4 separate regions of the Homo sapiens genome follow, and regions 1, 2 and 3 are each linked to region 4. The links are contacts of gene promoters, found by promoter capture Hi-C in blood cells and fetal thymus (Javierre and others, 2016). All regions are on one chromosome and are shown on one strand. Each heading gives the region's core, a stretch centred on a gene start or on the middle of the fragment in contact. The rest is flanking DNA. Distances are from core to core; before and after follow the strand shown. Region 1 overlaps TAF7L (TATA-box binding protein associated factor 7 like). Region 2 has its middle 22 kb from the start of DRP2. Region 3 overlaps DRP2 (dystrophin related protein 2). Region 4 holds the start of NOX1 (NADPH oxidase 1).

Region 1 (5,805 bases), core at 3,094-5,593, 400 kb after region 4:
TTCTAAGTTAGAAGCCCTGAACATTTTGTGGTATAGGATTTACTTTTTTTTAACTTGAAATGGTAAAGTGACCAATAACATTCAGAGATGTATGCCATCTTTACAACAAAGGTTGTTTTTGAATATTATTCATTTCAGGACACTCCATACCAGAATGAATTTTTAGTCTGTGAAATGAAAGGAACATTATAAAACAATCCTATGCTGCACATCACCTACCAAGCCACAATAATTGCTGTCCGCAGTAACTTAGAGGCTCTTCTCACTCAGTTGCTGAGTGACCCCTGATTGACCATGATTACAACCACTGACTGATCCAGTTCTTTCTCCTTTGCAGGCTCTTTCTCTTCCCACCACCCCCTATAGATAGGTTTTTCCTTAGGTTCAGACTTCTTGCTGAACAATCAACCAGGCTAACTCAACTAGCCCCACAGCTTCAATGATCATTTCTGTGTATGGGCCTCTCTCCAATTTCCCATTTTCAAAAGCACTTCTCCACATACCCCTCCAAATCCACTTTTTGTTATCCTATTTTCAGTTAATGGCACATCATTTCCCAGTTTCCCAGGCTTTGGACTCATCTTTGTTCCCCTTTTTGCCCTGTAAATCCAATCAATTGTTAAGCTCTGTTTGCTTCTACCACTTGCACCTTTGAAGCTCCAGGCTGTCCCCACTCCAATTTCTCCTATATACTTCTGGCAGAAAAATCTTCCTGAGTTATTCCCCAGGTAAAAAGGCTTTGAAGGTTCATTATGACCTACACCAAAAATCTAAACTGTTCACCCTGGCATCACCACCTCTGAGCCAGTGTGCATGCTGCTTTCTCATGGAATGCACTCCTTTCCCTATCTCCTTATTAAAACCCTACCTATATTTTAAGGCCCCAGTCAAACACCATCTTCTCCATGAAGTCTTCTTTAATATCCATGGACAATCTGTCATTCCTTTAAGTCCCTACCCCTCTTGCCAATTTCTCCCCAAATGAAGACAGAGACTACATCATAAGCATATCATAGCTCCCTGTAGAGCCTAGCTTAAAGTAGACACCTACTAAATCTAATTTGGATAAATGAACTAACATAAGGGACTCTGAGTAAATAAAGTTTACAGCTACATTTCTATGCTGCTCCTCAATACTAAATATAGTCATGTGTTACTTAACAATGGGGATATGTTCTAAGAAATGCATCCTTAGGCAATTTTGTCATGACGCGAACATGATAGAACATACTTACACCAACCTAGATAGTATAGCTTACTACACACCTAGGCTACATAGTATAGTCTATCGTTCCTAGGTTACAAACCTGTACAGCATATTACTGTACTGAATACTGTAGGCAATTGTAGCACAATGTTAAGTATTTGTGTATCTAAACATAGAAAAGGTAAACTAAAAATACAATATAAAAAATTAAAAATGGTACACTTATATAGGGCACTTACTATGAATAGAGCTTGCAGGACTAGAAGTTGCTGTGGGTGAGTCAGTGAGTGAGTGGTGAGTGAATGTGAAGGCCTAGGACATTACTATGCACTACTGAAGACTATATAAACACTATATACTTAGGCTATAGTAAAATAATTTAAAAATTAAGTAATTCTGCTGCTATGTTATGATGGCCACAGTGTCACCAGGTGACAGGAATTTCTTAGCTCCATTATAATCTTATGGGACTACCATCATATATGCAGTCTGTCATTGGCCAAAATGTTGTTATGCAGCATACAACTGTACTTACATTGATGAAAACAAAGATGTTTGGTGGGTACTAAAACAATCCTGGCATTAACTGTTCATCTGATTGTTTTAAAGCAGTATTAAGCAGTACTTGGATAAGTGATTTGCTGAGAGGAAGGGAATATATAGAACATAAAAATTCCGCTAGCCTTGTGGGGATGGGGGTGGGGAGTAGTGCCTGTACTTCAAGAGCACCATGCTAAGCCCATCCTCATAATACCAACTCCAGTCTCTTTAAAATTGTAACCCTCAACAGTATAAGGTTAGAGTCAGCACACATTTTCTATACAGCTGCTTGACCCTCATTTAGCCTATATTGCCTTCTTCTCTCTTCGCCCTGTACACTCTCTTGTGGCTTTGAAAAATACAGTTGTCGTTCAAGTTAGAAATACATACATCCTTAATGATTCCTTCTCCTTCAACACCCAGTAATTGACCCAACTCCTGTCAATTCTACCTTTAAAGTATATTCTCTAATATATCAATATTCATTGCAGCATTATTCATAATAGCCAAAAGTGAAAGCAACCCAAATGTCCATCAGCAGATGAATGAATAAACAAAATGTGGTATATTGATCCAATGGAGTATTAGTCAGTTTTAAATGGAAAAAAGTACTGATACATGCCATAACATGGATGAACCCTGAAAATATGCTAAATGAGAGGAGCCCGACTCAAAACACCATGTATTATATGATTTCACTTGTATGAAATAACTAGAATAGGCAGTAGATTAGTAGAAACTAGATGAGTGGTTGCCTAGTGCTGGGCAGGGGAGAGGTTCTGGAGAAGTGGGGAGTGACTACTAATGGATACAGGGTTTCTTTTTGGAGTGATGAAACTATTCTAAAATTGACTGCAGTGGTGGTTGTACAACTCTGAATATGCTAAAAGCCACTGAATTGTATAGTTTAAATGGGTGACTTGTCGGGGGTGGGGAGGACGGGGTTTGAGGCAGTCTCACTCTGTCACCCAGGCTGGAGTGCAGTGGTGGGATCTCTGCTCACTGCAACCTCTGCCTCCCAGGCTCAAGCAATCCTCCCACCTCAGCCTCCCGAGCAGCTGGGACTACAGGCATACACCACCATGCCTGGCTAATTTTTGGAGAGACGGGGTTTCACCATGTTGCCCAGGCTGGTCTCGAACTCCTGGGCTGAAGCCATCTGCCCACTTTGGCCTCCCAAAGCGCTAGGATTACAGGCACGCACCACCGCACCCAGCCTAAATGGGTGATATTGTATGGTTTATGAATTACATCTGTTATAAAAACATTTTTATTGCAGTTTAAAAATCTATATTCTTTCAATCTCCATTGCTACTAACTTAGTCCAAGTTACCATCCTCTGTTATTAGAGTACCACAAAGCCCCCCAACCAGCCTCTTTGCTTCTACTCTCACCTTCTTCCAACCCATTCTCCAGATAATAATCAGAGTAACCTTTTAAAAGTTTAAATTAGGCCAGACGTGGTGGCTCACGCCTGTAATCCCAGCACTTTGGGAGGCCAAGGCAGGTGGATCACGAGGTCAGGAGATCAAGACCATCCTCGCTAACACGGTGAAACCCTGTCTCTACTAAAAATACAAAAAATTAGCCGGGCATGGTGGCACGTGCCTGTAGTCCCAGTTACTTGGGAGGCTGAGGGAGGACAATCTCTTGAACCCGAGAGGCGGATGTTGCAGTGAGCCTAGATTGTGCCACTGCACTCCAGCCTGGGCGACAGAGCAAGACTCCATTTAAAAAAAAAAAAGTTTAAATTAGATGTGATTTTCCTATCTACAATTCTTCAAGGACTTCACATTACACTTAAGGCCAAACCCATCCTCCTTATCATGGCCTTCAAGGAACCATACACTATGGTCTCTGCCTACTTCTCCAACCTTATCTTAAGCCATTCTCTTCCTGGCTTTAAATACTCCAAAGGTCCTCAAAGAAGCCAAGTTCTTTCTGAGCATGAGACCTTGCATACGCTCCACCTAAGAGGCTCCTCATCCCACTCTTTGCCTGGACTTAATCCTTCCGGTCTCAGCTTCAATAGCACCTCCTAGGAGAGGTCTATCATGATCCCCCAATTAATTCAAGACCCTTTATTCTAATAGCACCACTGACTTTTTTCCTTCATAGCACTTCTTCACAATTTGTAACTTTATATTTGTATAATTTGTTTATTGTCAATCTCCCCTGCTAGACAGCTCCACGAGGATAAGTACAGCAGGTCCTTGAATAACATCGTTTTGTCCAATGTCGTTTTGTTACAGTAAGTCCTCACTTAATGTCATCAATAGGTTCTTAGAAACTGCAACTTTAAGCAAAATGACATGCAAAAGGTCTCCAAATAACATTGTTAGTTCAATGTCATTTCATTATAATTTTTTTTTTTTTTGAGACAGGGGCTCACTTTGTTGCCCAAGCTGGAGTGCAGTGGTGTGATCATGGCTCACTGCAGCCTCAACCTCCTGGGCTCAAGCAATCCTCCCACCTTAGCGTCCTGAGTAGCTGAGACTACAGGCTTATGCCACCACAACCGGCTAATTTTTTGTACAGTCAGCGTTTCACCATGTTGCTCAGATTGGTCTCAAACTCCTGAGCTAAAGCAATCCTCTCGCGTCGGCCTCCCAAAATACTGGGGTTACATGCATGAGCCACCACTCCTGGCCTCATTATAATGTTGATGAGAAAAATAAAATCACTTCCCTGTACACATTAGGTGAATTGGTTTGTCTGAATTGTCCCAGTCTGAGTGAGTGTGGGTGTGAGTGTGGGTGTGAGTGTGCCCTGCAATGGGATGCCATCCTATCCAAGGCTGGTTCCTACCTTGTGCCCTGAGCTGCTGGGATAGGCTCTGGCCATCTGAGACCCTGAACTGGAATCACTGGGTACATAATTGTCTTACTTGTTTTTATCAGTCTTTCTCAAATGTATGTATAGCTCACATTTATTTCAACGTTTAATTATTAGAAGCGTTTTGGTTTTTATTTAGAAGTTTGGTGATGTTTTTGTGACCAGAAATATGCTATAGGAACTTAATTCTTCTTTATATCAATTAGCCTATAGTAAAATTGGTTTCATTATATATACATTATTTTGCTTAAAGTTACAGTTTCCAAGAACCTATCAATGACACTGAGGATTTACTGTATTGCATTTGTCTTATTCAACACCGTACATCCAGTGCTTTTCACTTCATAGGCATTCAATATCTGTTGAATGAGTGAATTTTCACAAAGACCTTGTTCCACCCTGCTACCTTCATTTAGAAGATTTGGCTACCACTATTCCTATGAGAGGAACAGCCAGCAATGATATTGGAATTGAAGTGGGGGATTCTCTGTATCAAATGTTTTCTGGTTAATTTGAAAACATACTTCTTACCTTCTCATTTTTTTGTTTTTCCTGTAACTCAAGCTGCTCCAGCACAGACTGAAAATGATTCTGAAAAATAAATTGTATAAATGATGAACACTGAGTCTCAAAGAAAAAAAAAAAAACCAAGGGAGGCAAGGAGTTTGGCAAATAATTGTTTTTGTTTTTGTTTTTGAGGCGGAATCTTCCTCTGTCACCCAGGCTGGAGTGCAGTGGCGCAATCTTGGCTCATGCAACCTCCGCCTCCCAGGCTCAAGTGATTCTCATGTCTCAGCCTCCTGGGTAGCTGGGATTACAGGAGCATGCCACCAGGCCTGGCTAATTTTTGTATTTTTAGTAGAGATGAGGTTTCATCTCTACTAAAAGATCCCTTACTCAGGGATCATTTACTGTGATCCCTGGCAAGTTACTTAACCTCTTTGAGTTTCCATTCTTTATCTATAAAATGGGAGTGGTGACAGTATTTACGTTTCAAGGATGTGAGGATAAAATGTGATAATATGTGTACACAATTCTTAGCCCTTTATGTGCCTTTTACATAGCAAATGCTCAATATTGGCAATTTTTATCTCATATCACCTAGTCCCTTCCCCAAAATGCTTATATTAGATGATCAAAATTACTCAGGTAAAAGGAAACAGGGTTATCTTTTATTAGGAGTTTCTAAGAGGCTGTTTAGGTTCATGAATGAACAAGAACCC
Region 2 (5,444 bases), core at 1,290-3,789, 320 kb after region 4:
CTCCCAAAGTGCTGAGATTACAGGCATGAGCCACGGTGCCCAGCCATACTTTCTTATTTATTTGTATCACTCATCATTTTTTGTTGAAAACTAGACTTTTGAATAATCTGATGTGGCAACTTTGGAAATCAGATGCTCTCTCTTTACCAAGGTTTATTGTTGTTTTGACTTGTTTTTACTAATGTGGGTGGGTGGTTGTTTTAGTGACTTCTCTGAACTAGTCTGTATTCTTTGTCATATGTGACCACTGAATTCTCTACTCAGCTATTTTAGAGATTAGTTCATGATTGGACAGAGCTTCTTAAATGCCCAGAACCAGCAAATCTCCTAGTCTTTGTCAAAGAACTCCGTGTGCATGTTGGGGTGTACTTTCAACAATCACCCAGGCCATTAACAACTCTGCCTTAGTGTTCACTTCCTGATTGTGCAAAGGCTCAAGGTCAGCCAAACATGACAGTGTGGGGCCTTCTTGAGTCTTTCCAGAGCATGTTTACAGTCCTATGCATGCTTATGCCCTTCTAGATCTTCTGAAAAATGTAGGAGGTTTTCAAAGTGCTTATAGATATATTCTTCCCCAATTTTTCTGTTTAAGATTTTTTATTAGTCTATTGTGTACCTTAACTGTTATTCACAGCCTTAGGCAGCTGCAAAGCTAAATCACTTGCCTGTATTTGTTTTTGGCAAATACTCCCCCTGGAGAAGGCTTTTTGCACTGTGTTATCTCTGAGCAAGTGGTATTTTCCAGGGAACCACCAGACATATATAACAATGACAGTTGTTTAGGAATGAGGCTTTGAATAAGCTCCCACCTCTTTCTGCTCCCTCACGTGTCAGGCTGCTGGTTTTCTTCATAAATGTGGACTGTAATTTTTTAAGGCTACTGCAGAGCTAGAGAGTGGGAGATGGAACTAGGACAAATTAAAATGACGTGAAGCTCACTTTTCTTACAGAGATTCAGGTGTTTTTCTTTAAAATACATTCCCCAGGTTGCTGCAAGCCTTTGGTTAATTTCCAGAGTTCTGAAAATGTTGATTCTGACTAGTTTTGGCTTCAAAAAAATTTTACGGAGGACTGAATTTGGGGGGCCGTTACTCTTCCATTTTCGCTAATATTGTCTCAATAATTCTTTTAAAAAGCTTGTTAATATAATTATATCTAAAAACATTAACAATACTGCCTTAATATATGTCTATTTTATGTTTCCCTGATTGTCTCAAAGTATTTTTATAACCATTTGTTTGATTCAGGTATTTTAAATGGTCCCCAGGTTACATTTGGTTGATATGTCTTTAATGCCTCATTTAATCTATAGGTTCTCCTTGTTCCTTTTTATTTTTGCAATTTTTTTGTTGAAGAAACTGGGTGTCTTCCTAAGTTTCCCACATTCTAGAGTTTGCTCATTCTATTCTCATGATATTGTTTAACATGCTCCTTTGTCCCTTTTTTCCCTACAGGTTTAATTAGAGTAGATCTTATCTTTTGATAAGAATATTTCATATATACTATTGTCTGTCATTCTCCTTATATTTTAAAGCTACATTTGGGTGCCCATATCAGGGCCCTACAACAAGTGGATTAGAATATAGAGGCTTAGGCTAGGCACAGTGGCTCACGCCTGTAATTCCAGCATGTTGGGAGGCCAAGGTGGGCGGATCACCTGAGGTCAGGAGTTCCAGACCAGCCTGGCCAACATGGTGAAACCCCGTCTCTACTAAAAATACAAAAATTAGCCAGGCGTGGTGGTGTGTGCCTGTAATCCCAGCTACTCGGGAGGCTGAGGCAGGAGAATCGCTTGAACCTGGGAGGTAGAGGTTGCAGTGAGCCGAGATCGCGCCACTGTACTCCAGCCTGGGTGACAGAGCGAGACTCCGTCTCAAAAAATAAATAAATAAATAATAAAGAAATTAAAAATAGAATATAGAGGCTTACCTATAATCTCTTCCTTCTGTGCACTCCCTTCTTCCCAAACAGATATACACTTATTCTCTCAGTAATGAAATACTTATTTCTAGGAATTGAAAAGTAACCTTTTTTTCCATTAAAATACTGGTTCTGTCAGTCTTAGATTACCACGACCATTATTAAAATCTTTATACTGCATTTTTTACTATTTAGTATTTTTAGATTTTTAAACCCCAAACCTAAACCTTTGTCAGCCTAATTGTACTGGAATTTTAAAAATAGTATCAAGCTGGGTGCACTGGCTCTTGCCTGTAATCCCAACACTTTGTGGGGCTGAGGTGAGAGGATCACTTGAGCCCAGGAGTTCAAAACTAGCCTAGGCAACGTAGCGAAACCCCATCTGTACAAAAAATTAAAAAATTACCAGGGTATGGTGGCACACACCTATAGTCCCAGCTACTCAGAAGGCTGACGAGGGAGGATTGCTTGAGCCTGGGAAGTTGAGGCTACAGTGAGCCATGACCATGCCACTGCACTCCAGCCTGGGTGACAGAGTGAGACCCTGTCTAAAAAAAAATATTGTCATGCATTATATCCAGTTCACATTCTAAGATATTGTGTGGATGCCTTTCATCCAGATTCTTCAGTGTGGCAGGCATTATTATAATAGTCTCATTTTACAGTTGAAGAAACTATAAGCTCTGAAAGATTGAATAATTCACACAAAGTCATTCATAATGGAGTCAGGTCTGCCTTTCAGATCTACTAACACCAGAGTCTATGGGTTTTTTTCATTACACCATTTTGAGAATAAAATCATATGGTATTGCAAGCTGCTCCTTGTACTCTTTCTTTTTTTTTTTTTTTTTTGAGATGGAGTCTCGCTCTGTCACCCAGGCTGGAGTGCAGTGGCACGATCTCGGCTCACTGCAACCTCCACCTCCCGGGTTCAAGTGACTCTCCTGCCTCAGCCTCCTGAGTAGCTGGGATTACAGGTGCCCGCCACCACGCCTGGCTAATTTTTGTATTTTTAGTAGAGATGGGGTTTCACCATGTTGGCCAGGCTGGTCTCGAACTCCTGACCTCCTGATCCGCCCGCCTTGGCCTCCCAAAGTGCTGGGATTACAGGCGTGAGCCACCGCATCCGGTCTCTTTTTTTTTTTTTTTGAGATGGAGTCTCACTCTGTCTCCCAGGCTGGAGTGCAGTGGTACAATCTCGGGTCACTGCAACCTCCACCTCCCGGGTTCAAGTGATTCTCCTGCCTCTGCCTCCCAAGTAGCTGGGATTACAGGCACGTGCCATCACACCCAGCTAATTTTTGTATTTTTATTAGAGACGGGGCTTCCCTATGTTAGCCAGGCTGGTCTCGAACTCCCAACCTCAGGTGATCTGCCCCCCTTGGCCTCCCAAAGTGCTGGGATTATAGACGTGAGCCACCACACCTGGTGCCTGGTACTCTCTTAAGAAAAATATCTCCTTTTTAAGATTATTAGTATCATAAGATCTAATACCTTGAAGCAGATAATATAGATACTGCAAGTATGGGCTATAATATAATAAATCACACTAGGGTGAGGAAAATTGAAAGGTTGTTCTCCACTTAATGCTTTAACATTACCAAATTAATGTTGTCTTCAATTACCACTTTCCCACACTAAAAATTAAAACTAATCACTATGTATAATTTAAACGTTTTGAATTATTGCCCTGAGCTTAATCTTAGTTTAAAACAATTGAAACACACCAGAACTTTCTTCAAAGAAAAATGTATTTGAAAACTCCTGGTAAAAATACTGATTCCTCTTTTAATGATAAAAGATAAAACACACTCTTATTGGAGCAGAGAATAATGACCACTTTTGTTTTATAAAACATGTGTTTCCCTCACCCCTAATTGAGTACACATGCTCCAGGAAAAAAATCAGGGCCAAATACTGCTAATAATGAAAGGGAAGAATATTAGGATCATAATTTAATTAGCTCTAAGGATCTCTTTGCTCATCGCGAAATAAAAGGATCAATGATCCCTTTGAGCACTTGAAAGCTTTTCCTGTCAATTAGCCATTGTGACTAGATTGGCTATTTAAAGGCATGCTTTTCAAACTGGGTATGAGTACTCCCAGGGAAATTAAAAACTGTATAAATATACACACAATCACAGAGTGAGGAATGGCATTTTTTACTCAGATTATTTGCCAAAAACAAAGTATCCTGAATTGGGTCAGAGCAAATCTTCTGAAGAATATATGATGTCTGTATGGCATAAACTAATATCTGGGAGTAGGAAGAAAATTCTCTCTTCTGCTTTATTATACTTGGATACCACATCCAAAGCAAAAAATCTAAGCAAAAGAAAAGCAAAATAATCTGTTTAGAGGAAGATTTAATCAATTTGAGAGAGAAGCAATTATTTTACTTATCTAATTTGAATGCTGGGATAACATACTTTTTTCTTGAAGTGTTCAGTGGGACCATTAACCATTTTTTTTTCTTTTTTAAATTGATATTGTCTTTTTAAATATTTTTCTTCTTTTCTTTCTTCCTTTCTTTTTTTTTTTTTTTTTTTTTGAGATAAAGTCTTGTTATATTGTCCAGGCTGCTCTTGCACTCTTGGGCTTAAGCAATCTTTCTGCCTCAGCCTCCCAAGTAACTGGGACTACAGGCATGTGCCACTGTGCTTAGCTAATAATTGTTTTTTTCTTTTCTACAGTAAAAGTTCACAGATCTCAAGCGTAGCTCACTTAATTCTCTCTCTCTGTGTCTCCCTCACACACACATCTCTTTCTCTCTCACACACATACACACACACAATCATTTAACTACCTACCACCCAGATCAAGATGTAGAACCATTTCCAGTACCTCAGAAGACTTCTTCATGCCCCTTCCCACTTGATACTCTCGAAGGTAACCACCGTTTTAACTTGTATCACCATAGGTGTATTGCCTGTTTTAAAACTTCATTTAAATGGAATCAAACTATGTACTTATGTATTTGACTTTTGCTAAACATTATTTTCTTTTTCTTTCTTTCTTTTTTTTTTTTTTTTTTTTTTTTTGAGAGAGTCTTACTCTGTTGCCCAGGCTGGAGTGCAGTGGTGCGATCTTGGCTCACTGCAACCTCTGCCTCCCAGGTTCAAGCGATTCTCCCGCCTCAGCCTCTCGAGTAGCTGGGATTACAGGCACGTGCCACCACGCCTGGCTAATTTTTTGTATTTTTAGTAGAGATGGGGTTTTGCCATGTTGGGCAGGCTGGTCTCGAACTCCTGACCTTAGGTGATCTGCCTGCCTTGGCCTCCCAAAGTGCTGGAATTACAGGCATGAGTCACCACACCCAGCCAACATTGTTTTCTTGAGATTTATCCATGTCATTGCACATTCTAGTAGTTTCTTCTTCTTTTTAGCTGCTATGTACTAATTCCATTGTGTCAATTTACCACAATTGGTTTATTCATTCTAGAGTATAAATGCATTTGAGTTTCCAGTTTTTGAATTATGAACAAAATGGATACGAACAGTCTTGTACATATCTTTCATAGAAT
Region 3 (5,389 bases), core at 1-2,500, 380 kb after region 4:
CCTCCAGTTCAACTTCCCAGAGGCAACCAGTGTTGAGTTTGGCATATATCCTCCCAGACCTTCTTCTAGGAGCAGGGTATGGTGGGCATGAGCAAGAGTGGATTACCCAGCAGGCTGTCTGCTCTAGCAGAGCAGCCACACCTGCCCAGTATATCTGGAAGCCATTAGGGTAAGTTCCTCTGCCCTGTCTCCTCCTCAGACCACATCCAGTGAGAACATGAGGGACTTTGCCACAACCTTAAAGAACAAATTCCGCTCCAAGCATTATTTCAGCAAACACCCTCAGCGAGGTTATCTGCCTGTGCAATCAGTGCTGGAGGCTGACTACAGTGAGACGTGAGTACTGGTGGCTGAGCAGGGGCTGTGGGCAGCCTCACTGAGCCCGATCGTATGCTGTGAAGGGGCTGAGTCCCGAGTGGGCTAGGAGAATGTTCCAAGGTAAATCCCACTAGTGATAGGGCCGTTCAGCTTGGGCCTGACCTGCACTCTGGCCTGAGAAGTAGACTGGAATCCAGTCTTTGTATTTTGTTCCCATCAGCTCTTGCCCATGTCCATAATGTAGGGAGCAGGAGAGGGAGGAGGAAACAGGCTGCCCAGTCTTTGGTCCTCCGAGTCTTTGCTGCTTTCTTCTAGGCCGGCTTCTTCCCCGATGTGGCCACACGCCGACACACACTCCCGAATTGAGCATTTTGCCAGCAGGTACCACCAGGTTTGCGGGAGGTGGGTAGGAGCTGTTGTAGGAAGTCCGAGGGGAAAGGATCTTCAGTCGGGGCAAGGAGAATGGAGTCAGGGCCAGGGGATGTGCACAGTGGGGTGTGCAGCAGCCAGCAAGACCCAACACTTAGGAGTAGTTGGGGCAGCTCTCAAAGCCAATGATCCTGCTGTGAGATTAAAGTCCTTGAGATGGAAGCAGGCCCCACATCCTGTTTTCTCTCCTGCCTCTGCTCTTTATTCCTAGGCTTGCTGAGATGGAAAGTCAAAATTGCTCCTTCTTTAATGACAGCTTGTCCCCAGATGACAGCATGTGAGTTTCCACAGCTGCTTATTTGCCAGAAATAGTTCTCCTTGAGATCTTTGTGCCACTGTTTGGGAAGGGTATATCCTCCAGGGAATGGGGGTGTGTGGTGGTTAGGATCCTTAGCTCCCTAAGGAAGGAAGGCTGCTTTCTGGGCACGGTGTTCAGTAAGAAAGGCAGTCTTCCCTCTATCAATCAACCTAGGAAATGAGTGATGTACTAGCTCTCTGCCATCTTTCCAAGTCCCTTCCTGTTGCAAGATCCCATCCTTCTATACACAACTTTGAGGAACGAAGAATATGCCCTCCCTCATCTGAAGTTGCAGAAAGGAGCCATTATCTTGTGCTCAAGATGCCAAAGCCCTATCTAGTGCTACACTAACCCTGGGAGACATCAGGGACTTGGCTGAACTATAGCCAAGGGAACTCCCTGGTATGACAGCCCAGAGAAGGGGCCTTGTGTCTCTAGGGAGGTCCCCACCCTGCTCAGAGGTCCTAGGAGCTTCTGGCTACATGGATCAATCTGCCCTGACTGGGACCCAGATCCCTCTAGAGGAAGAGGAAACAAAGGAGGGTAGAGTAGGGGAACAGCACAGAAAGGGAAATGATTTGCTCATTGTTTCCCGGGGAGGGGGGTGGGCTGTAAGTAGAACCCAGATACCTGCATCCTGAAAACACTCTCTCAATACCCCCAACCACAGCCTCTGCCTCCTTTGAACACTTTCATCCCTCTCAAGCCTCAGTATATGTCCTTTCCCTCTCGATGTGACTTAGAAGTGAATCCTCCAGCATGCATTTCCTGGGGCCTGAGCTGAGAGCTGAGTTGTTTCTCTGTTCAACAACTGGTCACCTACTCTGCTTTCCCCACACCCATGCAGAGACGAGGACCAGTACCTGCTGCGGCACTCCAGCCCCATCACAGACCGGGAGCCAGCCTTTGGACAGCAGGCTCCATGCAGTGTGGCCACAGAAAGCAAAGGGGAGCTACAGAAGATCCTGGCCCACTTGGAAGATGAGAACCGGTGGGTGTGATGATAGCAGAAATCTGTGTGGGTTCTTGAGGCAGACAGATTGAATTTAAGTCCAGGCACTTCTACATCCTAGCTGTCTGACCTTGAGCAAGTTACTTATATTCTGTAATCCTCTATTTCCTTATCTGTAAAACGGGGATGATGATCATCAAACCTGCCTCCTAGGGTCACTTGTGAAGACCAAATGAGATCAGGCATATAATGTGTTTGGCTCAGTGCCTGGCTTATAGTAAGGGTTCAATAAATGCTAGCTATTATAATAATTATTTGAAAACTTTTAAATTTTTTTTTTTTTTGAGACAGAGTCTCACTCTGTTGCCCAGGCTGGAGTGCAGTGTCGTGATCTCGGCTCACTGCAACCTCTGGCTCCTGAGTTCAAACGATTCTCATGCCTTAGCGTCCCGAGTAGCTGGGACTACAGGCATGCACCACCATGCCTGGCTAATTTTTTTTTTTTTTGGTATTTTTAGTAGAGACGGGGTTTCACCATGTTGGCCAGGCTGGTCTTGAACTCCTGACCTCAAGTGATCTGCTCACCCCGGCTTCCCAAAGTGCTGGGATTACAGGCATGAGCCACTGTGCCTGGCCTGAATCCTTTTAATGTAACCCAAATTTTTCCAAGAACACACAAGATGCAAGCAGAGAGAATGCATAGAGAAAACAGGAGAGGGTATGACATGTTCCTGCCCTCAGAGACCTTTCAATGTTGGAAGTGGAAAGAAATGTGTATCACCTAGTAAAAGTATTCCAGAGGACAATGACACTACATAGAGCGTTGGAGGTCTGGAATAGGGATGGTGAAGAAGAATACAGGGAAGACATGACTTTCCATAAAGTAAAGGTGGCAGCAGGTACCTAAGGAGGGTCCAAGCCTCTTATGGGGCATGAAGTAGAATTCGTAGTACCCCTTAGAGCAGTGCTTTGCAAACAGTAGTGCATAAGATAGTCACTTGGGAAGCTTGGTAAAATACAAATTCTAAGTCACAGGTCTGGGTGGGGCCTGAGTTTCTGCGTTTCTCACTAGCTCCCAGTGGATGCCCATACTGCTGTTCCACAGGCCACACTTGGAGTAGCAAGTCTTTAGAACAGTGCTACTCAGAGTTTGGAGAGCAGACCAGGGCCAGTTTGTGACCAGTTTGTGACCAGTCCAAGGCAAGATAAAAAAAAAAAAAAAAAAAAAGAGAGAGTAAGCTTTTAGAAACTTTTACAGCAATTTGACATTGCTATGATATTCAAGCACCAAATTAGTAGGCTCATCTCGTTGAATAGGGTAGAGACCAGTTTGAGTGTTGTTGAACTTGTGTGATGAATTACGTGGTGTGAGCTATGTACTAGTCATGTGCATTGGGACCACATACTGGTCCACAACAGAGTGAAAAAAAAAAAAACCTGGATTTTTGCCATGAATCATTTGAGAAACACTGCCTTTGAGCAGCAGTCTGCAGGCCCTGGGAAACACTGGGCTGAGAGTGACTGTTCTGTTGCAAATAAAGAAAAAACGAACAAAGCCAAAAGTGATATCCCCAAAAGTAGGCCACCTGTTTGGAATTTGTTTTTTTGATGACCCAGCATGGGTGTTCAAAGTGGGCCAAAGAGGAGGATTGTGGAGAGAAGAGGCAAGACAGGTGGTCTCTTGTTTATGTTATGTTTTCCCTTGGAATCTAAACATCTAAAAATGGAGTAGGTGAGTCAGTGGCCCTAATGCCTCCTTTATTTGCAGACTGTGTTTCTGCCTGATTTTAAGGTCAGAATTAATCCCTAAAGCAGCACATCAAAGCCCTGAGACATTTCTTACGCAAAATGTCAACTTTCTCTGCTCTGAGGTCTCAGGATGGCAGAGTAAATGACATATGTGCTGGAGAGGAAGTGGATGTGGCCATTCAAGCAAGAGCACAGCTGGGGGTGGGGATGGGGGTGGGGGTGAGGTAGGGTGGAAGAGCACAGGGATTGTTCACACCTAGGCCTGAGGGGACATCTGAAACCTGGACAGTCAGAGCCCTGTTAGAGCCATAGGTCTTGGTGTCTCTCTCCATGGCAGGATTCTCCAGGGAGAGCTGAGGCGCCTGAAGTGGCAGCATGAGGAGGCAGCTGAGGCACCCAGTCTGGCTGACGGCTCCACTGAGGCAGCAACAGACCACCGCAATGAGGAGCTTCTGGCCGAGGCCCGTATCCTTCGGCAACATAAGAGCCGCCTGGAGACGCGCATGCAGATCCTCGAAGATCACAACAAGCAGCTAGAGTCCCAGCTGCAGCGTCTGAGGGAGCTTCTCCTGCAGGTGAGGATGGAGACAGGAAAAGAGCCAGGGTGGCCTCTGAGCCCAGGGGAAGGGCTGGGGAGCTGAGGGCTGTGGCAAAGAAGACACAAGAGAGAGCTCCTTGGCAGTGGCTGTCAGGTAACTTCCTGAAGAGAACTGGGCCTGCGGTTGGTGGGGGGGCGGGGGAAAGAAGAGACTGGTATGGTCACATCTTCAGCCAACTCTCTTCCACCTACCTTCCATGCCACCCTGTGTGTCACTCTCCAGCCACTGTGGGGCCTGGGGCAGAGAGAAGACTTCTGAGGGCTTATTTCTTCACAACCCATTGGAATCCCATACTAAAAGAACAAACTTCAAAAATCATCTAAAACATTGATTTTGCTAGTATGGTATTTGCTAGAAAGAAGTGGGTTGGGACAAGTTTGGCAAGAGAAAGATTAGTGCTATCTAAAGGTGTTTCTTGTTACTTTTTGCACCTTTCATCTCTGAGAGGCAATGTGTATGCTGTGGTAAAGCTCTGGAGTCAGGCAGCTCTGGGTTTGCATGTGGCTCTGCCAATTGACTGTGGGGTGTTTGGACAGTTAGTTAACCTCTCTAAGCCCCAGTTTCCTCATCTGTACAACAGAGATGGTAACAGTACCAACTTCATAGAATTGTGGTGAACATAAAAGGAGATAATGCATTTATGGAATTTAGCATGATGCCAGGAATTTAGTACACACTTCATAAATGTTACCTATTATTGTCATTATATGTAATGGAAAATACCACTCTTCTGCCTCTTCCCCAGATCCTCCAAGGAATGGCCTCTATGGATTCCTGGAGGTTTCTAACATATGCTATGTCATGAACCAAGGATCAGGTGTGAAACTCTACATTTCCAGAGAGAATTGTGTTCTAAATAGCTTAATTATAGCTGAAATGACAGCAAGAGACCTTTAGGTACAATGCCATTCTTTATTTAATTAATTAATTAATTAATTAATTTTCAAGACAGAGTTTGGCTCTTGTTGCCCAGGCTGGAGTGTAATGGCTCGATCTCAGCTCACTGCAACCTCCGCCTCCCAGGTTCAAGCGATTCTCCTGCCT
Region 4 (5,972 bases), core at 2,001-4,500:
TGCTAATGGTTGAGAAAATCGAAAGAAGAATATTTTGTGGCATGTGAAAGTTATATGAAATTCAAATTTCAGTGACCATAAATAAAGTGGTATTGGAACTTAGCCACTGCTACTCATTTTTGTATTGTTTATGGCTGTTTTTGTGATACAATGACGGAGTAGAGTAGTTGGGACAGAGACCATATGGCTTGCAAAGCCTAAAATATGTACTATCTAGATTTTTACAGAAACATTTGCCATTTCTTGGACTAGAGCATTCAAACTGTTGCACCTAAAAGATGGCAATAAGTGAATAAATGGATATCTGAAGAAACAAAGAACAAATTTAGCACCTATAACAATACCTAACTGAAAAGAACTAAACCATTCCAGATGGGCCTGCCTTTTTAATTACACCCTGACACACATTTTTCTGTTTTCAGATTGTGAGTCTTTTTTCAAATTAATCTATTTTTCCTTTGGACTTTTTTGAGCTCTTAAGACTGCTTTTGCCTGTTCCAAGTTCTGTCTCTGCACTGGCTAAAGGTGAAATTTGGAACTCACTGCCCATTGCCTTGAGGACCAACCAACTGGTCTCTAGCCCAAGTGTGGAGGTGCTAGTCTGTAATTCGACAGGTCTCCAGGGCGCTAGTATATATCCCTCGCCCCACAGTATGAGTCAGAACCATCTCAGCACAACAGGCAAAGGGCCTTTAGCCTAGGACATGGCCTATTCAGACTCCCTAGATCTAGACCACTCACACACCTTTAGTACTATAATATAGTGATTTAAAGTGTGATATTGGAGTCAAGTTGTAGCATCACCAATTAATAGCTCTATAATCTCAGACAGACATATGATTTAAATTTTCTAAACCTCAATTTCTTCACCTGCAAAATGAGGATAATAACAGGACCTACTTTATAGTAATGCTATGAGGCTTACGTCAGATAATGCGTGTAAAGTGATTAATGCAATGCTTGGGGCTTAGTAAGAGATCAATAAGTGCTAGCTACAGAGTTGTGTCACCACCGAACCTGCTTTACCAATCAATTTCTTCCTGCCTCCTTTGCTCAGTTACCCTTTTCCAGAGCTGAGTGTCTTCCAGAGAAACGTCTTTGAAAGAAAAGAAAGTCAACAGTCACAGACACCTCAAGAATTTGGAAGACAGAGGAGAGAAGTTTATTTAGAGGGAGCAGAAATATTTCTGGATCGCAAAGAGACACAGGGGCAAATAACTGTGTCAGCCCATCATCAATTGTAGGCAAGGCAAATGATGAAATACAGTGATATCTAGGAGTAAGGCATTCCATTCCCCATCTTAGCTGTCATTTCCTCCACTATGAACGTCAAAGAAGGTAAACTACAAGACCTGGGAGGAAGGAGGAATAAAACTATTTTTAAGTAATTTATTTTTTATTTAAAAATCAGTGCATAGGAGTATATGTCAGAGATAATGAGAAGTCTAAGCTTGCCAGCTGGTTTGGTGGGGGATGAAAATTCAAAGCTAGAGAGTTAAATGTGAGTCACCATCATAGCTGGTAAACTCTCCCAGCAAAAAATAAGAGAGGGGGAAAAAATGCAGGTAAATGTGGATTTTAGAGCTAGAAACACCCTTATATTTGTATCTAATCTAGTCACTTTATTAATCCCCTGCTCCCCTCCCCTGCCCAATTCCCCCCACCTACACACCCACAGGACCTGAAGTCTAGAGAGGATAAATAATTTGATCGAGATCACCCAGTTAGTAGCAGAATTCAAAGTACTTGCCAGGTTCCCTTTCTCCTAAACTAGTGTTCTTTCCATTATAGTGCAAAAGGAACTCAATATAAGGCATTGAGCATTTAAAATATGTCATGGGATAACCTGACAAAATAAGCACTTTTGTTAAATGTAAAACAAACAACCCTCCAGGGAAACTCCACATATTTTTCCCTGGAGCACCTGGTCGGGGGGCGGGGGGGTAGACAGGAATAAAAAGAAGCATCACACCTTCTCTCTTCTGTTTTGCCTGTGGGACCCAAAAGCAAAACAGGAGAAAAGAGAAAGAGTAATGAATGAAGATCTAGGAAAGTGAGAAAGGACACAGGGAGCCCCAGGCTCAACTGTGGCTCAGAAATGGAAGAATGAGAGTGGAGAGAGGTGTTAGAGTGTTAGGAGAAAGGGATTGTGCATACAAAGGGTGATAAAGGGGTTCTGGCCTGAACGTCATTGGGGAGCTGGGTTCGAGTGATGCCAATTCAGTCAATTCATTGTGTGACATCTAGGTCTTATTTTCCTTTGTACAATCAATAAGTTGGTTTACATCTGCACTATGCAATGCCACAGCCACTACCCACATGGGGCTGCTGAGCACTTGAAATGTGGCTAGTCCTCACTGAGATGTGCTGTGGGTATATATACACATCAGATTTGAAAGACTCAGTAAAAATAAAAATATGTAAATTAGCTTCTTAATATTTTCAATATTGAATACATACTGAAAGGATTTGTTGATATGTTGGGTTAAATGAATTATATTGTTAAATATTAACTTCACCTGTTTATTTTTACCTTTTCGGTGTAGGTATTAGAAAATTTAGGAATTACATTATGTGGTTTGCTATATTTCTAGTGGTCAGTACTGGGCCAGATGATCTCTAAGATCACTTTCATCTCAAACATTCAGTGACTTTTTGAAATCTTGATGGGACCAGTATAGGAAAGATAGAGAGAAATCAGCACTCATGGTAGTAGTTAGAAGTGAGATGGAAGAGAAAGGGAGATGACAGAAAATGAAAACAGATTGAAATTCCAAATACTTGTGATTTGACAACATGAACAATTGCATGTTATTTGCCTCTGTCCTCTCATCTGACCCACAGTTGTATTTTTTAACTAACTGGTCTTGATGAGCCCAATAATCGGCATGGAATCATCTTTCTCTTTCAAATTGCTTTACAAATATTAAAAAACATGATTTCTCCTTAATCCTTCCTAATTAATAGGAAGTCAAACATCACTTACCAGAAACAAAACTGAAAACCAGTGGTTAACCACCCAGTTTCCCATTGTCAAGAGGTGGTTTGGAGCCCTTCTAGGCAACAGGGAAGATTCAGCAATCCGGATTCTGGAGAGGTCCTTCAGGAATGGAACATTTGTCCAGCGCAGGGTCTGTGAGCCTTTAAGATGTGAAAAACACACACCTACCCCAAGAGTTCCTGGGAATGAATAAGTTTATTCTGCCTTCCTTCTCTGGACAGAACTGTGCTATCAGCTTAGATAGACCAGCCCTATCTATGAGAACCACAAGGGTTTTACCTGTGGGGATTTTACTGCTTCAGGAAATAGCAACATTCTTGGATGAAAATATTCTCTCTCATCATCTTATCAACATGACCTAATGTGAAGCATTGCCTTCCTAGATAAAAGATTTGCTAAAGTTTCTCATAAAAAAGATTATTAGTCTGGGTCTGTAAACAGATTACTTCAGGAGAAGTAGGGAGGGAAGCGTGTGTGGTAAGGAAGCTGTTTCAAAGTGCACTTTTCAAACTGTTGCCACATCTGCCGGCTGCCATTTGGATTTCAGCCTGGCTAGCTCAGAAACTTTAGCATACCAGTTCCCCTGGAGGATGATCTGTGGTTGACATATATGATGATGGCTTTGGGGAGAACTTGACTGGCTGGAAGGACAAGTGAAAAGAAGGGCCAAATAGAGCAAGAGAAAATTTAACAAGTATAAAAGTGCACTTTGGTTCAAAATAAACAGAGGCAGAGCACTCAAAAGAATGGAGATGATTGTCTTCTAGTATGATAGATTTACTAGAGTTGTGTGTTCAGCTCTGGGCACTGATTTTTTTTCCCTTTTCTAAAATGGTGAAATATACACAGAAGAGTATATAAAACATACATATGTAACTTAAAGAATAATTTTAAGGAATAAGTATCTATGTGTTCACTACTCAGATTAAAGAAAATAGACTATTTTTCTCCAGTATCTTAAAGCTCTTTGTATTTCCCTCCCTGATCACATCTATCTTCTTCCCCTCCTCTACCCCACCGGATGTAATCACTATCCTGAAATTTGGGGTAATCATTCTGTTATTTTTCTTTATATTTTTACTAACTATAATTGCATCCCTAAGCAATATATTGTTTAGTTTTTCCTGTTTTTGAACTTTTTGTAAATGAAACCTGGCAGTGTGTATGTATGCTTCTGTGGTTTGCTTCTTTCAACATTGGGTTTTTGAGATTCATACATGTACATGTAATTGCGGTTCACTTACACTGCTATCTAATATGCCATTGCATGAATGAATATACATTAATGTATTCATTCATCCTACTACTGATGGATATGATGATGGAACAATGTTGATCAAATGTCACACATATGCTACAGTTTCTCTAAGGTATATACCCAGGAGTAAAATTCCAGGGTCCTGAGATTTGCACATATTCTACTTTGCTGTGTAATTCCAAACCCGTTCCGAAGTGACCACCTAAATGTATACTACAGAGAGTTATGAATGAGAGTTCTACTTCCTCTACATGCTTACCAACCCTTGGTATTTTCCAGACTTTTTTGTTTTTATAATTCAAGTAAGTGTGGAAAACTATCGTATTATGATTTTAATTTGCATTTCCCTGATTACTAATGAGTTTGAGCATCTTTTAATTCAACTGCTGGCCATTTGAGTTTTCTCTTTTTAAAAGAGCCTATTCTGAGCCTATTCTACTTTTTGGTCTATCTTTCTATTGGTTTTTCTTTTGCTTTTAGATTCTTAGGGTTCTGTTTATAATCTTATACTAATCTTTTATTGCTTATGTTTATGGCTTGTCTTTTCAGTCTCTTAATAGTGTTTTCTGATAAATGGAAGTTCTTAATTTTAATGCACTCTGATTACCAGTCATTTCTTTTATGATTTATGCATTTTATGTCTTGTTTTAGAAATCCATCACTACCCAGATATCAAGATACTCTTTTATATTTTCTTCTAGAAATTTTATATTTTTGCATTTTACATTTATGTTTTGAATCCACCTGGAGCTGATTTTCATGTATGGTATCCAATTTACTACTTTTAAATATGGAAAACGAATTGCCCCAGCATCATTTTTGAAAAGTACTTTTTATTTTTATTTTTATTTTTTTGAGACAGGGTCTCACTCTGTCACCCAGGTTGGAGTACAGTGGTGTGATCTCCCTTCACTGCAACCTTCACCTCCTGGGTTCAAGTGATTCTCATGCCTTAGCCACCCGAGTAGCTGGGATTACAGGCAAGCGCCATCATGCCTGGCTAATTTTTGTATTTTTAGTAGAGACAGGGTTTTGCTGTGCTGGCCAGTCTGGTCTTGACCTCCTGGCCTCATGTGATCCACCCACGTGGGCCTCTCAAAGTGCTGGGATTACAGGCATGAGCCACTGCGCTCAGCCATTTTTGAAAAGTACTTTCAAAAATATACTTTCTTCGCTGATCTAAAATGTCAGTTCTATTATATATGAAATGTCTATATACACGAGTTTCTTCCGGAGCTCTCCATTCAGTTCTTCCATGCCACTGCCTTAATTACTAAGTCTTGACATCTGATAAGACAAGTTTCCCCACCTTGTTCTTCAAGAGTGCTTTGGCTATTCTTGACTTTTTGTTTGTTTGTTTCTTTGTTTTGGGGGGAGGGGGGGTTCTGTGTTTTGTTTTTATTCTTGGCCTTTTTCATTTTCATGTAAATTTTATAATCAAATTCTTGCGTCTCCTTTGTTATATTCACTTCTTCTTCTTTTTTTTTTTTCTTTGAGACGGAGTCTCGCTCTGTCGCCCAGGCTGGAGTGCAGTGGTGCAATCTCGGCTCACTGCAAGCTCCACCTCCCGGGTTCACGCCATTCTCCTGCCTCAGCCTCCCGAGTAGCTGGGACCACAGGCGCCCGCCACCACGCCTGGCTAATTTTTTCTATTTTTTAGTAGAGACGGGGTTTCACTGTGCTAGCCAGGATGGTCTCGACCTCCTCACCTCG

The links. Contacts are between HindIII fragments. The CHiCAGO score rates a contact against its expected background, and 5 or more counts as called.
Region 1: a contact is called between a fragment that was not itself captured here and the fragment with the promoter of NOX1 in region 4, in 1 of 17 cell types (naive CD8 T cells). The highest score is 6.0, in naive CD8 T cells.
Region 2: a fragment that was not itself captured here is called in contact with the fragment with the promoter of NOX1 in region 4 in 2 of 17 cell types (naive B cells and total B cells); the score reaches 6.7 in naive B cells.
Region 3: a contact is called between a fragment that was not itself captured here and the fragment with the promoter of NOX1 in region 4, in 1 of 17 cell types (total CD4 T cells). The highest score is 5.1, in total CD4 T cells.

What each region holds. Positions count from the first base shown.
Region 1 is chrX:101,270,109-101,275,913 of GRCh38, forward strand. TAF7L (TATA-box binding protein associated factor 7 like) reads right to left here. Exons shown (of 13, transcript NM_001168474.2): 12 at 5,114-5,173. Among named protein-coding and RNA genes, the nearest start is that of TAF7L, 18 kb to the right of the region's middle. The HindIII fragment of the contact is 9,276 bases long and covers 1-5,805 here.
Region 2 is chrX:101,195,214-101,200,657 of GRCh38, forward strand. No RefSeq gene overlaps it. Among named protein-coding and RNA genes, the nearest start is that of DRP2, 22 kb to the right of the region's middle. The HindIII fragment of the contact is 2,811 bases long and covers 1,135-3,945 here.
Region 3 is chrX:101,254,226-101,259,614 of GRCh38, forward strand. It overlaps DRP2 (dystrophin related protein 2), which reads left to right. Exons shown (of 24, transcript NM_001939.3): 18 at 200-336; 19 at 634-699; 20 at 959-1,024; 21 at 1,893-2,036; 22 at 4,084-4,321. Among named protein-coding and RNA genes, the nearest start is that of TAF7L, 34 kb to the right of the region's middle. The HindIII fragment of the contact is 3,502 bases long and covers 1-3,001 here.
Region 4 is chrX:100,871,109-100,877,080 of GRCh38, forward strand. NOX1 (NADPH oxidase 1) reads right to left here and starts at 3,251. Exons shown (of 13, transcript NM_007052.5): 1 at 2,987-3,251. The coding sequence starts at 3,031. The HindIII fragment of the contact is 11,783 bases long and covers 1,449-5,972 here.